2 separate regions of the Homo sapiens genome follow, and region 2 is linked to region 1. Evidence: promoter capture Hi-C in human tissues and cell types (Jung and others, 2019). All regions are on one chromosome and are shown on one strand. The core of a region is centred on a gene start or on the middle of the fragment in contact, and the rest is flanking DNA. Distances in the headings are between cores, read along the strand shown.

Evidence for each region. The method cuts DNA at HindIII sites, captures the fragments that hold promoters and counts their contacts. A contact is called where the count stands out against the background at its distance.
Region 2: a contact is called between a fragment that was not itself captured here and the fragment with the promoter of DIRAS1 in region 1, in 1 of the 25 tissues and cell types used here (dorsolateral prefrontal cortex).

What each region holds. Positions count from the first base shown.
Region 1 is chr19:2,717,742-2,724,738 of GRCh38, reverse strand. It overlaps DIRAS1 (DIRAS family GTPase 1), which reads left to right and starts at 3,367. Exons shown (of 2, transcript NM_145173.4): 1 at 3,367-3,435; 2 at 6,864-6,997. The coding sequence starts at 6,933. RefSeq lists an enhancer at 250-1,162. The HindIII fragment of the contact is 24,571 bases long and covers 1-6,997 here.
Region 2 is chr19:3,152,040-3,159,122 of GRCh38, reverse strand. It overlaps GNA15 (G protein subunit alpha 15), which reads right to left. Exons shown (of 7, transcript NM_002068.4): 5 at 3,171-3,300; 6 at 1,242-1,395. GNA15-DT (GNA15 divergent transcript) reads left to right here and starts at 3,948. Exons shown (of 4, transcript NR_110670.1): 1 at 3,948-4,105. RefSeq lists enhancers at 3,628-3,717, 3,758-4,087, 3,375-4,332. The HindIII fragment of the contact is 4,542 bases long and covers 264-4,805 here.

The DNA.
Region 1 (6,997 bases), core at 2,118-4,617:
TAAAATTAGCCGGGCCTGGTGGTGTGTGCCTGTAGTCCCAGCTACTCAGGCGGCTGAGGAGGAAGGATTGCTCGAGCCCAGAAAGTCAAGGCTGCAGTGATCTGCGACCTCACCACGCACTCCAGCTTAGGTGGCGGAGTGAGACCCTGTCTCGATAGATAGATAGATAAGTAGATGATTAATAGATAATAGATGAACAGGTGACAGATGATTGATAGATAATAGGTAAATGATTAATAAATGATGATTGATAGATTAATTGATAGATGACAGATAGATGATTGATAGATGATAGATAGATAGGTGGTAGATTGATTGACTGATTGATTGACAGATGCTAAACTTGAAAAGCAACTGTGTGGCTGAGCCCCTGGGGTGACTCTGCCCCCTGAGGCCAGGATGTGCAACCTCGGCTTTGCCCACATGGTCCAGAGACCACTGAAGAGAGCTGAGGCCGGACCCCACTGCCCTCCTCTCCAAAGGCTAGCCGGGGCTCAGTGAGGCCCACGTGGCCCTGGTCAGGGCAGCAGGGTGAGGAGAGCGGTCGTGGAGCTGCAGGGCCGGGGGAGGAGCTGGACATTGCAGATGAACGCCGTCCCTTGCTGTTCTGCTGAAAGGAGATCTGTAAGGCAGGACCGGCCGAGTGTCCCCAGGACAAGACTGCAGATAGCCAGGGACAGGGCAAGAGGATCACAAGGGGGTGGCCGTCTATCCCCAGCAGGCTGGGCTATGGCTTCAGAGCCTGATGGATCCGGACCGACCTCTTTCCCACTAGGCCACCGTGGGCGAGCCGCTTCCCTTCTCTGAGCAGCAGTTTCCAGATGGGAGCAGGGACAGTGGCCTTGTACAGACTGCTGAGGGCCCAGCACCCACTACACTGGCACTTTGTGTTTGCAGGACCCATGCAGACTGCCCCGGTGGGTTTCACCCTGGGGACTCAACGTGGACGCCTGTGGATCCTGCCCAGCTCGCGAGCTGGAGAGGTTGACAGGTCCTCTTCTCTTTGGCAAAGATGCAGCCGGCCTCAGTCCTCCTCGCCCACCTCTGTGCCTCTCAGGATGCCGAGGGACTCTCCAAAGAGGGACTCGGGTATGAGAGGCAGCAGGGAACCCAGGAAACTCCAGTGCCAGCCCCGGCTTGCTCAGTGCCCCAGTGTGCAAGTGCCCTGGCCCCTGAGATTTGGATCACGGACCTTTCCATGGAGAGGCAGAGCTGGGGCGCCCACCCACCCCCACTCACAAAGGCCAGGCGGAACCCTCTGCTCCCCGGCCCACCATGGGGGAGAAGCTCCTGCTGTCCTAGTTTGGGTGCTCGGAAGAGCTCACTGCCATCTGTGGCCTGGGCACCGCGGGCCATGTGTGGAGACCCCGTTCCTCAGGGACAGCGAGGAGGGGAACAGGGCCTGGCCTCGCCGGCTCACGCGGCCCACAGCCTGGCCTGGGAGCTATAAATAGCAGCCGCAGCGTGGAGTTACCGCCCTGCCCACTCTCCTACGCATGAGTCAGCCTGCCCCGGCCTGAGCTGGTGCCCGGAGGAGACAGGGAGCCGGCCCGACGCCCTGCCCCACGCTGGTGGGTCACTCAGGAGACGAAGGCAGGCAGGCGGACTGGGAAGGGGCAGGGCTGCCGTCTGAGTGCTTGGGTGCCCAGCAGCCCCGTGTAGGTGGGCGCCCTGCCCATGTGTTCCCAGCAACCCTACAGGCGGGCAACAGTGACGTCACTCACAGATGGGGGAACCGATGCTTGAGAAGGCACTTCCCTGCAGGCAGCCATGTAGAGCAGAAGCTGGGATTTGTCTGCCCTCAGGGCTGTCTCCATCTCCTGCTGAGGGCACCCCCAGATGAGGGTCAGGGGCCGGGCCATGCTCTGAGGTGCTCCCGCAGGGCTGGGGTCAGGGTGGGAGGGAGGTGCACGCCAGGAGCACTCAGGCCGGGCCATGGATGCCAGGCTGAGAAGCTGGACCTTGGCCTGGGAGAAGGGAGCCATGGGTGGCGTTAGAGCAGGGGAGGCCCATGTTGCAGTTGGAGCATTGAGTGGCAGAGTGGAAGGAGGGCTGGAGGAAGGGGTCTGGAGGCCAGGAGGGGGAGTGGGGTCAAATCAGGGAGAAATAGAGCTCCTTGAGCCCCAAAGCCGCTTGAACCTCAGTGCCCCAGCCTCAGTGGCAACAGGAGAGGGGACTGAGTGGTCTTGGAGGCAGTGCCAAGTCTCCGCAGAGGCAGATGGGCCCACCTCATCCAGGGCCATGGAAATGGTGGGTCATGGAGAACCCCAGGAGCTGAGGGCCCAAGGGGTTCACCTGCTCACAGGCCTGGTGATGGGGAGCTCACCACCTTCCAGACCAGCCTCTCACCCACTGATGGCTCTGACTCTGGAGAGACCCCTGTGGGTCCCAGAGTTGGCCTCTCCACCAAGGGGCGCCTTCCTCTGACAGCCTTGCGGCCTGGGACTGTCCCGCACCCACCCCTGAGAGCACCTTCTGGCCTGGTCACTAGACCCCAAAGTCCAGTCTCCTCTGGGATCTGCCCGATGAGGCCAAAAGGAACCTCGGCCTCCCGGTCTCCAAAATGGAGGCGGAACCATGGTCTCTTGTGGACACACAGACGCATCAGAAAAGCCAGTGCTCCCCTAAGACACCTCCTGTTGGGGGAACACAAACATTTTCCTAACCGAAAACGGCAAACCCATCCGCTGCAGAGCAGCGCCAGCCCCCTTTGCTCACCCCCCACCTCCCTAGGCCTGACTGCCATGGGCTGCCTCCGCCTCCACAAAACCAGCCCTACAGAGCGCTGAGTCCGCTTCTGCCCCCATCCCGCCCCTGCCCAGGCCCCTGGGATGGGTGGGCCTCCAGGTGCACCCCATTGACCTGAACCCTCCCGCCTCTGCCCGCTTCTAAACCTGTTCATTGATTGTTGATTATCGACTTACTCATTTCACAACGCACCCCTCTGATTCCCCGCCCTGCGTGTGACCGGGCCCCAGCCGGCCTCAGGGGTCCCGTTCTGCACCCCCTTTATCCGCATTTCTGCCAAAGCCCTCCACCCCCGGCTGGACTCTGCTCCTCCCAAGCCGGGCTCCTGGCCCCCACTCGGGGTTCCCCGGGAAGCGGCCCCAGCTCCCACCCCGAGGGAGGGCGCGCGCAGGTGGCTACGTGGCAGGGCGGGGGTCCCGGATCCTGGCGACCTCTCCCACCCCGGGCGCGGGCAGGGGTCCCGCGTGGGGCGGCGGTGACCTTGGCCGGGCGGCGCGCCGGCCCCGTGGGCGCGGGTCCCCGGGGCGGGGCGGGGCGGGGCGGGGCGGGGCGGAGCGCGGGGCCCGGCGGGCGGGGACGGCGCGGGCGCGACTGCGGCGGCTCGGGCGGGCGGGGGGCGGCGGCGCCAGCGGACACCGGAGCGGGCAGGAGCAGCGGCCGCGGCGCCGCAGGGACCAGCGGGCCCAGGTAGGCGGCCCGGGGCGGGGAGGGGGTCCCTGCGCAGCCCCCAGCCGGCCGTCCTCCCCGCCGCGCGTCCCTCCTTTGTCCCGGCCCCAGCCTCCCGGGCCTTGGGGCCGGGCCCTTCCCCGCGTGGCTCCGGGGCCCCTCGCCGGGCGTCCCCCGTCCCTTCCCGCCGGGCCCGGCCGGCCCCTCCGCGCTCACCTTGGACAGCTCCCGGCCGCCTCCCCTCCCCCACCCGGAGGGCGCCCCCCTGCCGAGCCCGCCCCACCGAGGCCCACCCCGCCGCCCCTCTCCGCATTGGTCCCCTCGGGCAGGGCCTCCTCCCTCCTGCAGCCGCCTTCTTCGCCCTCCGCCCCGCTGCCCAGCCAAGCCCCTCCCTCCGCGCCCCCTCCCCGGGGTGGGCTCCTCCTCTCCACCACTGAGGTCCTCCTGAGTCAAGGGTCGCCCCTGGGCTGGCCCCGCACTGTGCCTCTGCGCCCTCGGGCCCCCTAGAGCAGGCCCTTTCTCCATCAAACCCCTCACCGGCCAGGCGGCCCTGGGTCAGACCCCCGCCCCACCCTTGGTCAGGCGTGACCCCCGCTAGACCCCTGGGTCGCGGCTCTCTCTGCTTTCCTGACCCTGAGCTTTGCTTTGACACCCCCGCCCCCACCAACCACGCCGTGCCCGGCCGGGAGCCGGGCTTCAGGGACCCAGGGCTGGGGTAGATTGGCCCTGCCTGGACGTCTGGGGGTGGGCTGCCCCGCACAGGCGGGAAACCCCAGGAGTCTAGCCAAGCAGGGTGGGCTTCCAGCCCCGCTGTGCGCCTCCACCCCCCTGCTCTGTGACCTTGAGCCAGCCCCTCCTGCTCCTGCCTCGGTGCCCACGACCCCCTCCCTCCACCCGCACCCCCCAGGCGGTGGAGGTGGGAAGTGGCGTGGGCTTCGGGGCTGTTGAGTGCAAGCGCCTTTCTGGTCAGGGATTCCAGACCCAGCGGGGAGGACAGTACTGCTCATGGGGGCTGGAGCTTCAGTGCCCGCAGCAAGGCAAAGGCTGGATCTGGGTCCACAGAACCCATGGCCATTAGGACCCCAGGCCGGTCTTGGTGGCGTCTTTCTGCACAGCAGCGTGCCCGCCTCTCAGGGCGCCCACCCAGGAAAGGGCAGGGTCTGCAGCACAGGCCGCCTCCCCCCCACCACCAGCACCCCCAGCCTCCTCCGAATGCCGAGAAATTACTATGCATGTAGTCCACAAACCCGGCAGCCAATCACATGAGTTGGCATTGCCGAGGCGCCCAGAAGTTTGCCTGGCTCATCACAACTGGGGACTGTGTCAGCTGGCGCTTTCATCAGCCTCTTTTCTTTTCCTGGCAAATCTGTTACCCTTGATAATCCAGAAGGTGCCTTTGCAACCAACAGGCACAGCCAAGTGCCCTGCCCACCGGCCCCAAGCCCTTGTGACTGTGATCACAATTGTGATCGGGGTCTCCGCTGTACAGGGCACTGCCTAGGGCCTTTCTCCACCTTGTCACCTTACTTGCCCCAACAGTGGCTCGCATTTCACAGAAGAGAAAACGGAGGCTTAGGGACTTGAATTTGCCTGTTTAGGTTCAAACCACTGACCCCCGGGGAACCTCTGGACCCTCCCCATAAACACACCCCCACCCCCAGTGCAGCAGGTAGAAACTGGTTCCTCCTCCTCTCCCACTGTAGACCACCTTGCTGGGGAACACCCCTCCCCCACCCCCCACCGCTGCCCCAGAGCCTGGAAGGAGGAAGGGGAGGGGAGGACATCAATTCTGGAGATAAGCCACCCGCCCTCCCCCCAGCGTTCTTCCCCCACCTCCATCATTTCAGGATCTGCTGTGCTGTGTGACCTCCTCAGGCTGCTGGACCTCTCTGAGCCCAAGAAGGAAGAGAGGGGCTAAGAGGTGCCCCTCCCAGGAAGTGCTATTCTAAGGATCCTTCAGACCTGAACGGGAGGGGCTAGGGCACACCAGGCCATAGTTTGATTTTAGAGTTTAGGGAGTGGCGATTTTCCCGTTCAGCTTCTGGATTTTGTATTTTTGTGTCCCACCTGGGCTGCAAGACCCTTCCTCCCTGGGGCGGCTATTGGGAATCAGTGCCCTGATTTGCAAATTGTGGTTCTCAGATTCCCAGCCTCAGGATCCCATTTATGGCAGGTGAGGAGAGCAGCCCTGTAATACAAGTTCCAGCTGGATGCGGTGTCTCACACCTGGAATCCCAGCACTTTGGGAGCCCGAGGCGAGAGGAGCACCTGAGGTCAGGAGTTCAAGACCAGCCTGGCCAACATGGCGAAACCCCGTCTCTACTGAAAATACAAAAATTAGCCGGGTGTGGTGGTGCATGCCTGTAATCCCAGCTACTCTGGAGGCTGAGGCAGGAGAATTGCTTGAACCGAGGAGGCAGAGGTTGCAGTGAGCCGAGATTGCACCACTGAACTCCAACCTGGGCAACAGAGCAAGACTTGGTTTTAAAAAAAATAAGAAGGCCAGGTGCAGTGGCTCACGCCTGTAACCCCAGCACTTTGGGAGGCCGAGGTGGGTGGATCACCTGAGGTCAGGAGTTCAAGACCTGCCTGACCAACATGGAGAAACCCTGCCTCTACTAAAAATATAAAATTAGCCGGGCTTTGTGGTGCATGCCTGTAATCCTAGCTACTTGGGAGGCTGAGGCAAGAGAATAGCTTGAACCCGGGAGGTGGAGGTTGCGGCGAGCCAAGATTGTGCCATTGCACTCCAGCCTGGGCAGCAAGAGCGAAACTCTGTCTAAAAATAAATAAATAAATAAGAAGAATAAAATAAAATACGAGTTCCCAGGGCCGTTGCCCTGGCCGACCGATTCATCACACCTAGGGCTGCGGCCCTGACATATGCATCTTAAACACCCGACCATGTGCGGCTTCCATGAGGATTGGCCATCTCTGGGTTGGCGGAAGAGCAGGGGACCCATGGTTGTTGGAGACGGGCACCGTTTGAGCCACCAAACAGGCTCAGGGTGGCATGATGGCTCGGCAAGGTCTCAGAGCCAGGCAGGTGTGGAGCGAGAGGTGGAAGCCAGGCCTGCTAGCTTCCAGGGGCCCCTGCCACACTGGGAAGAGAGGGGGAAGCTGGCACAGCCTGGAAGGGACACCCACACCCGGGGAAGGAGTTTCGTGGGCATCCCGGCGTCTCCCACGCCTCTCCTAGCTCAGCGTCCCCCGGGGAAGCTCAGGCCCCAGATTTTGTTAGGGAGAAGTAAGCAAAGGGTGTTGGCTGTGCGCCCGCCTGTGGGACAGAACTGCAAAGTCAGCCACAAGCAAATGGGCCTTTTCAGGAGGCAGGAGGCACGGCAGCCACCTCCTCTGAGAAGCCGCCATGTCCTCCTCCCTCCCCGGGGCGTGGGGCTGTCCCCTCAAGCCTGGGTGGCCTTTGACGTGTGACCCTCCTCTCTGCACAGGCTCGGTCTGGGGTTCTTGCAGCTGGCACCAGCCCTCCCGGCCCCGGCCGCCCACCCGCCGCGGGGAAGATGCCGGAACAGAGTAACGATTACCGCGTGGTGGTGTTCGGGGCGGGCGGCGTGGGCAAGAGCTC
Region 2 (7,083 bases), core at 1,285-3,784, 440 kb before region 1:
AACCCAGGAGGCAGAGCTTGCAGTGAGCTGAGATTGCGCCACTGCACTCCAGCCTGGGCAGCAGAGCGAGACTCCGTCTCAAAAAACAAACAAAAAAAAATTAAAGAAAAAATGGATTAAAGAAAAAGAAATTGCTATCCAATTAGGGATAGATGAGATCACTATGAAAGATTAGAAAAAGAAACGTTATGGCCAGATGCGGTGGCTCACGCCCGTAATCCCAGCACTTTGGGAGGCTGAGGTAGGTGGATCACTTGAGGTCAGTTCGAGACCAGCCTGACCAACATGGTGAAACCCCATCTCTACTAAAAATAGGACAGGAAACTACTAAAAATTAGCCAGGCTTGGTGGCACGTGCCTGTAATCACAGCTACTTGGGAGGCTAAGGCAGGAGAATCACTTGAACCGGGGAGTTGGAGGTTGCCATGAGCCAAGATCGCACCACTGTACTCCAGCCTGGGTGACAGAGTGAGACTCTGTCTCAAAAAGAAAAAATAGAAGAAAGAAAGAAAAGAAAAAGAATCATTCTTAAAACCTAGGCAGATTCTGGAAATAGTAGACAATCTTTCCAGAAGTGCTTTACAACAGTGACCTCTACATAGCAAACCCATGCTTGAAGGATCTTGGCTCAAACCCCAAATGTTGGCCAACAAGCATAAAATAAAATGTTTGGCCGGGCATGGTGGCTCCTGTCTATAATCCTAGCACTTTGGGAGGCTGAGGCGGGTGGATCAGGAGGTCAAGTGATCGAGACTATCCTGGTCAACATGGTGAAATCCCGTCTTTTCGTACTAAAAACACAAAAATTAGCTGGGCGTGGTGGCGCGCACCTGTAGTTCCAGCTACTAGGGAGGCTGAGGTAGGAGAATCGCTTGAACTCTGGAGGGAAAGGTTGCAGTGAGCCGAGATCACGCCACTGCACTCCAGCCTGGTGACAGAGCAAGACTCTGTCTCAAAAATAAATAAATAAATAAAATGTTTAAGGTGTACGTGATATGCTACGTGTTTTTAGAATTCCTCACTTTACTCAGTTCCAAGGGCCTCTGCTATTTTATTCCATTCCACAGAAGGGAAAACAGATTCAATGAGGTCGGGCAGTGGATGGAGCTGAGTCTAGAACGCGGGTCTGATCCTATGTGAAAGTTCCGGTGACTCCAGGCTGAAGTAGAGTCTGGATTAGCATCTCTCTTCGGAGCTGCTTTTGGGAGTTGAAGGGTATAGAAAGTTCTAGAATTACTTACCCTGGAAACTGGGGAAATAGGTAGCCAGGTGGGAGGTGGGGATTTTCTCCTCCAGGATGTCGGTTTTGTTGAGAAAGAGGATGACGGATGTGCTTTTGAACCAGGGTAGTTCCAGGATAGTCCCAAACAATGCGAGGCTCTCCTTCATGCGGTTCTGTGTTGGGGGCAGAAGCAGGTTAGTGCTTCAACCAGCCAGGTGGGACAGGAAACCCTCCCATCGCGGAGACGGGGCTGTTGGCTCCAGGGGCATGGGCTCACCCCTATCTGCCTGGCTGGGGCTGAGGCGGGTGTGCCCGTGTTTCCATATGGACAGCTGCCTGGGTGTGCCTGACATGGTTTTGTGCCTGTGCTGGTTGGAAGTGTGTCCTCCCGAAATTCATGTCCCCCCAGAGCTTCAGAGTGTGACCTTATCTGGAGAGAGATTCTTGAACTCCTGGCCTCCCAGCGTGCTGGGGTTATAGGCATGAACCACTGCACCTGGCCTGGAGATAGGGTCTTTGAAGAGGTCGTTAAGGTGAGGCAATACTAGAATACGGTGGCCCTCAAGTCCGTGACTGCTGTCCTCATAAGAAGAGGGAGACCTGGCCGGGCGCGGCAGCTCACGGCTGTAATCCTAGCACTTTGGGAGGCCAAGGCGGGCAGATCACCTGAGGCCAGGAGTTGGAGACCAGCCTGGCTAACATGGTGAAACCCCGTTTCTACTAAAAATACAAAAAATTAGCCGGGCATGATGGCAGGTGCCTGTAAACCCAGCTACTCGGGAGGCTGAGGCAGGAAAATCGCTTGAACCCGGGAGGCGGAGGTTGCAGTGAGCTGAGATCGCGCCACTGCACTCTAACCTGGGCGACAAAAGCGAGACTCCATCTCAAAAAAAAAAGTACAATAAGGTCTCAAATGCCTTGTGTTATGGGGTACATCATATTTCCCCAAAATTCATACGTTCAAGACCTAACCCCCTAGAACCTCAGTTTGTGACCTTCTTTGGAAACAGGGCCATCACACGAGGAATTAACCCAGATGAGGTCGTACTGGAGTAGGGTGGGCCCTGATCCTAGACGACTGGTGTACTTATTAAAAGAGGCTATTGGCTGGGCACAGTGGCTCACGCCTGTAATCCCAGCACTTTGGGAGGCCGAGGCGGGCGGATCACGAGGTCAGGAGATTGAGACCATCCTGGCTAACATGGTGAAACCCCCTCTCTTCTAAGAATACAAAAAAAAAATTAGCCGAGCGTGGTGGCGGGTGCCTGTAATCCCACCTACTCCGGAGGCTGAGGCAGGAGAATGGTGTGAACCCGGGAGGCGGAGTTTCCAGTGAGCCGAGATCGCGCCACTGCACTCCAGCCTGTGCGTGTGCGTGCATGTGTGTGTGCACGCATGTGTGTGCCTGTGTGCCTGTGTGTGCGTGTGTGTGCCTGTGTGTGCGTGTGCATGTGTGTACTGTGTGTGTGCATGTGTGTGTTCATGTGTGTGCGCATGTGTACATATGCGTGTATTGTGCACGTGAGTGCATGCAAGTGTGCATGTGTGTGGTGCATGTGTGTTCGTGTGCATGTGTTGTGCATGTGCACTGCGTGTGTACATGTGTCCCGTGTGTGCACGTGTGTATGTGCATGTATTATGCACGTGTCTGTGCGTGTTTGTGTGCATGCATTGTGTATGTGCGTGTGTGCACTGTAGTGTGTGTGTGTGTGTGTGTGTGTGTGTGTGTGTGTGTGTCTGGGGTCCTGACCAAACAAATGCTGTAGGTCTGTGTCTTGGGTTGCTGCAATCTGACCACAAAAGGCTGAAGGGTCAAGTTCATAGCCATGCTGGGCACACACAGGCCCGTTCAAGAGCAGGGATCCCTCCCTTTCTGCACCAGAGCTTCCTGCTCAGGTGAGGGTCCCTGGGCCAACAAGTGGGCAGGGCGAGGGAGGCGGTGGCGCACCTCCTGGTTGTTCTCCTCCAGGCACTGGTCGTATTCACTCAGTGAGGCCAGGTAGATGAGGGCGATCACGTTCTCGAAACAATGGATCCATTTCTTACGCTCTGACTTCTGGCCCCCGACGTCCACGATCCTACAGGGAACCGAGGTGCCCCCTTTCAGAGCTCAGGAGCCTGCTCCGTGACACCCCCAACCCCCATCACGTCTGGGATATGCCAAGATCCATAATAGCGACAGCAAGAATAGGTGCTAGCCTCTCGTGGATTTGCCATGTCATTCCCGCGAGGCAAGGATGAGTCTTACGCCCATTTTACAGATGAGAAGCCTGAGATCCAGGGAGGAGCGGGGACTTTCCCAAGCTTCTACTGTGCTGGGCTGCCTGCTTTCTACCCCCATATTAGAGGGGAGCAGGTTGGACAGATCTGAGATGTGCCCTGGTGCTGGCTGGGCGACCCGGCGGAGGAAATTGCCAAACATCTCCAAAACTCAGTTTTCCCATCTGTGCTATGGGGCTCCTGTGCTCTGGCTGGCCATGGGCATGTCCAGTGGCCACACAGATGGGAATGAGGGCTGTTCCCAGAGCACACGTCCTCCCCTCCATCTGTGACTCAGCCCCACGCACCGTAACAAAAGCCTGAACCCTGCCCCCACCTTCCTGTTCTCTCTCTTCTGAGAAATGTGGGTCGCTGATAACCATCTGTGCGTCATTTCCCTGGGGATGCAACCGTTACTCAGGAAGTCCCAGAACAGAGGCTTTGGACGGGCCCGGCCCAGGGCCTCAAGCAAGAAGGGACTTGCCCCATTGCACAGGAGGGGAAACCGGGACTGATGATGAAGCAGTTAGGCTGCAGCTGCTGGATGTGTCTCCTGATCCCTGAGACCCACTCCTCCCATGCATCCTCAGAGTCCCTCAAACCCCACATCCAGAGCCAGACAGGGTAAGCAGCCGTCGAGAGGGGGCTCTGGAGACTGAGACGGGAGTGGGATCAGCAACTGACCAGTTGGGAACTGTGGGCATCACCTCTCATCTCGGGTCTCAGTGTCCTCTGAGCCCTCACTCCATTCATTCGTCTCACTCCTGGGCCACACCTAAAAATCACTTCCTTGGCCCAGACTTCCCCATGATTTCCCAGCCTCTACCTTCACTCCTAAACTTTTATCCACCCACCCACCCCATTCATCGATTTATTCACTCATCCATCCACCCATCCACCCACCCACTCATCCATCCACCCATCCAGCCATTCACTCATCCATCCATCTATCCATCTACCCATCTATCCATCCATCCATCATCCATCCACCCACCCATCCATCCACCCATCCAGCCATTCACTCATCCATCCATCTATCCATCTACCCATCTATCCATCCATCCATCATCCATCCACCTGTCCACCCATTTACGAAATCCACCCACCGACCCACCCATCCATCTCTCCATTTACTCATCCATCCATCCATCCACCCATCTGTCCACCCATTACCCAGCTACCCATCCATCCATCTACCCATCTATCCACTCACTCATCCACCCATGTACCCATCCACCCACCCTCCCACCCATCCACTCATCCATTCATCCACTCACCCATCCACCCATTCATCCATTCATCCGTCACCCACCACCCATCTACCCATTCATTCATCCATCCATCCACTCATCCACCCATCCATCCACCCATTCATCCATCCATCCATCACCCACCACCCATCTACCCATTCATTCATCCATCCATCCACTCATCCACCCATCCATCCACCCATTCATCCATCCATCCATCCATCCATCCCACCCATCCATCCATCTATCCATCCACCCATCCATCTATTCATTCACTCATCCATCCATCTATCCGTCTATCCATCTACCCATCTATTCATCCATCCATCATCCACCTGCCTGTCCACCCATTTACTCAATCCACCCATCCATCCATCGCTTCATCTACTCATCTATCCATCCACCCATCTGTTCACCCATTATCCATCTACTCATACATCCATCTACCCATCTATCCACTCACTCGTCCACCCATCTACCCATCCACCCACCCACACCCCCATCCACTCATCCATTCATCCATCCATTCACCCACTCATCCATCCATCCTTCACTCACCCATTCACCCATTTATTCATTCATTCATCCATCACCTGCCACCCATCTACCCATTCATTCATCCATCCATCCACTCATCCACCCATCCATCCATGCATTCACCCACCCATTCATCCATCCATTCATCCATCCCACCCACCCATCCATCTATCCACTCATCCATCCATCCTTCACTCACCAATCCACCCACCCATCCATTCACCCATCACCCTTCCACCCATCTACCCATTAATTCATCCATCCACTCATTCACCCATCCATCCACCCATTCATCCACCCATCTATCCATCTATCCACTCATCCACCCACTCATCCATTCATGTATCACCCATCCACCCATCTAACCATCCATCCATCCATCCATCCACTCATCCCTCTTTCAATCCATCCATCTATCCATCCATTCATCCATCCACCCACTCATCCATCTATCCATTGATTCATCCACTCATCCATCCTGCCACTCCATCCATCCACTCATCTATCCCTCAACTTATCCATCCATCTATTCATCTATCCATCCACCCATTCATCCACCCATCCATTCCCTTCCATCTTTCCTTTTTTTTTTTTTTTAAAGATTCCCAGACCAAGTATCTCTCCCATAGAAGTCATCCTTGGGTACTAACACTACTATTGTGTCCCAGAGCTGGTTCCTTCTCGTGGGTTCTCGGTCTCGCTGACTTCAAGAATGAAGCCGCAGACCTTCGCAGTAAGTGTTACAGCTCTTAAAGGTGGTGTGGACCCAAAGAGTGAGCAGCAGCAAGATTTATTGTGAAGAGCGAAAGAACAAAGCTTCCACAGCGTGGAAGGGGACCCGAGCGGGTTGCCCCCATTCCATCTTTCCAACCATCCACCCACATTTACCAACTTCTACTCTGACCTTTAGCTATTCACTAAAGAAGCAGAAGAATCAAACTCAGCCCCTAACCTTGTGAGGCTCTCCATCTTGTAGAGGAGACCCACAGAAAACAGATAAATTATGAACCTTCCTAGTAAGGACTATTGAAGAGGCCAAAACAATAGGTTTGGGGGATTTAGGGAAAGGAAGGCCAAATAGGGGTAGGTCAAACACAATCGCTGTCTCTGGGCATGACTTTGCACCCCTGCTCAGCTCCCCGCCATCAGCCCATGGAAACAGATCTTGCTAAGGTCACCAGTGACCCTCTAACTGCCAATCCCAGAGTCATTCTTCTCACTGTATTCTTGACCTTTCCTTTCCTGACCTTTGACATTGGCCATTGCTCTGCTGGGTTAGGGTTAGGGTTAGGGTGCTGCACTGGCCATTCCCACCTCTGTCTGCCAGCTAAGGTGGAGTCCCCCTAGGCCCCTCAGACTCAACCTGTCCCAAAGGACTCCATCACCACCTTTTCATCCTCTAGCCCACCGGCTCCACTGTCTACCCCCATCACCTTGACAAAAAACTCAGGTGTCATTTTTGACTTCCTGTTCTAATTCCCACACTCATCCAGTCCTGCCCATTCCACATCAGAAACAACTCTTGCCCATCCCTTCCTTTCCATCCCCACGCCCGCTGTCCTGGCTCCTCCTTTTTCTGAGTTTCCTGACTTCCAGCCTCACACTCTAGTCCATCCCCCAGTGTTGATGACTACAGGGATCACCTCTGAGCTCCCCAGACCAGGCCTCCCCAGACCTGGTCCTGACTGTATAGTCTCTATTTCCTCCTCCCCAGCAGCCCCTTCAGGGTTAGGACTACTGAACTCCTATTCGTCTTTCAAAACCCCATTAATATTCCCTCCTCCAAGAAGATATTCCCTCCTGGATCTCTGATGC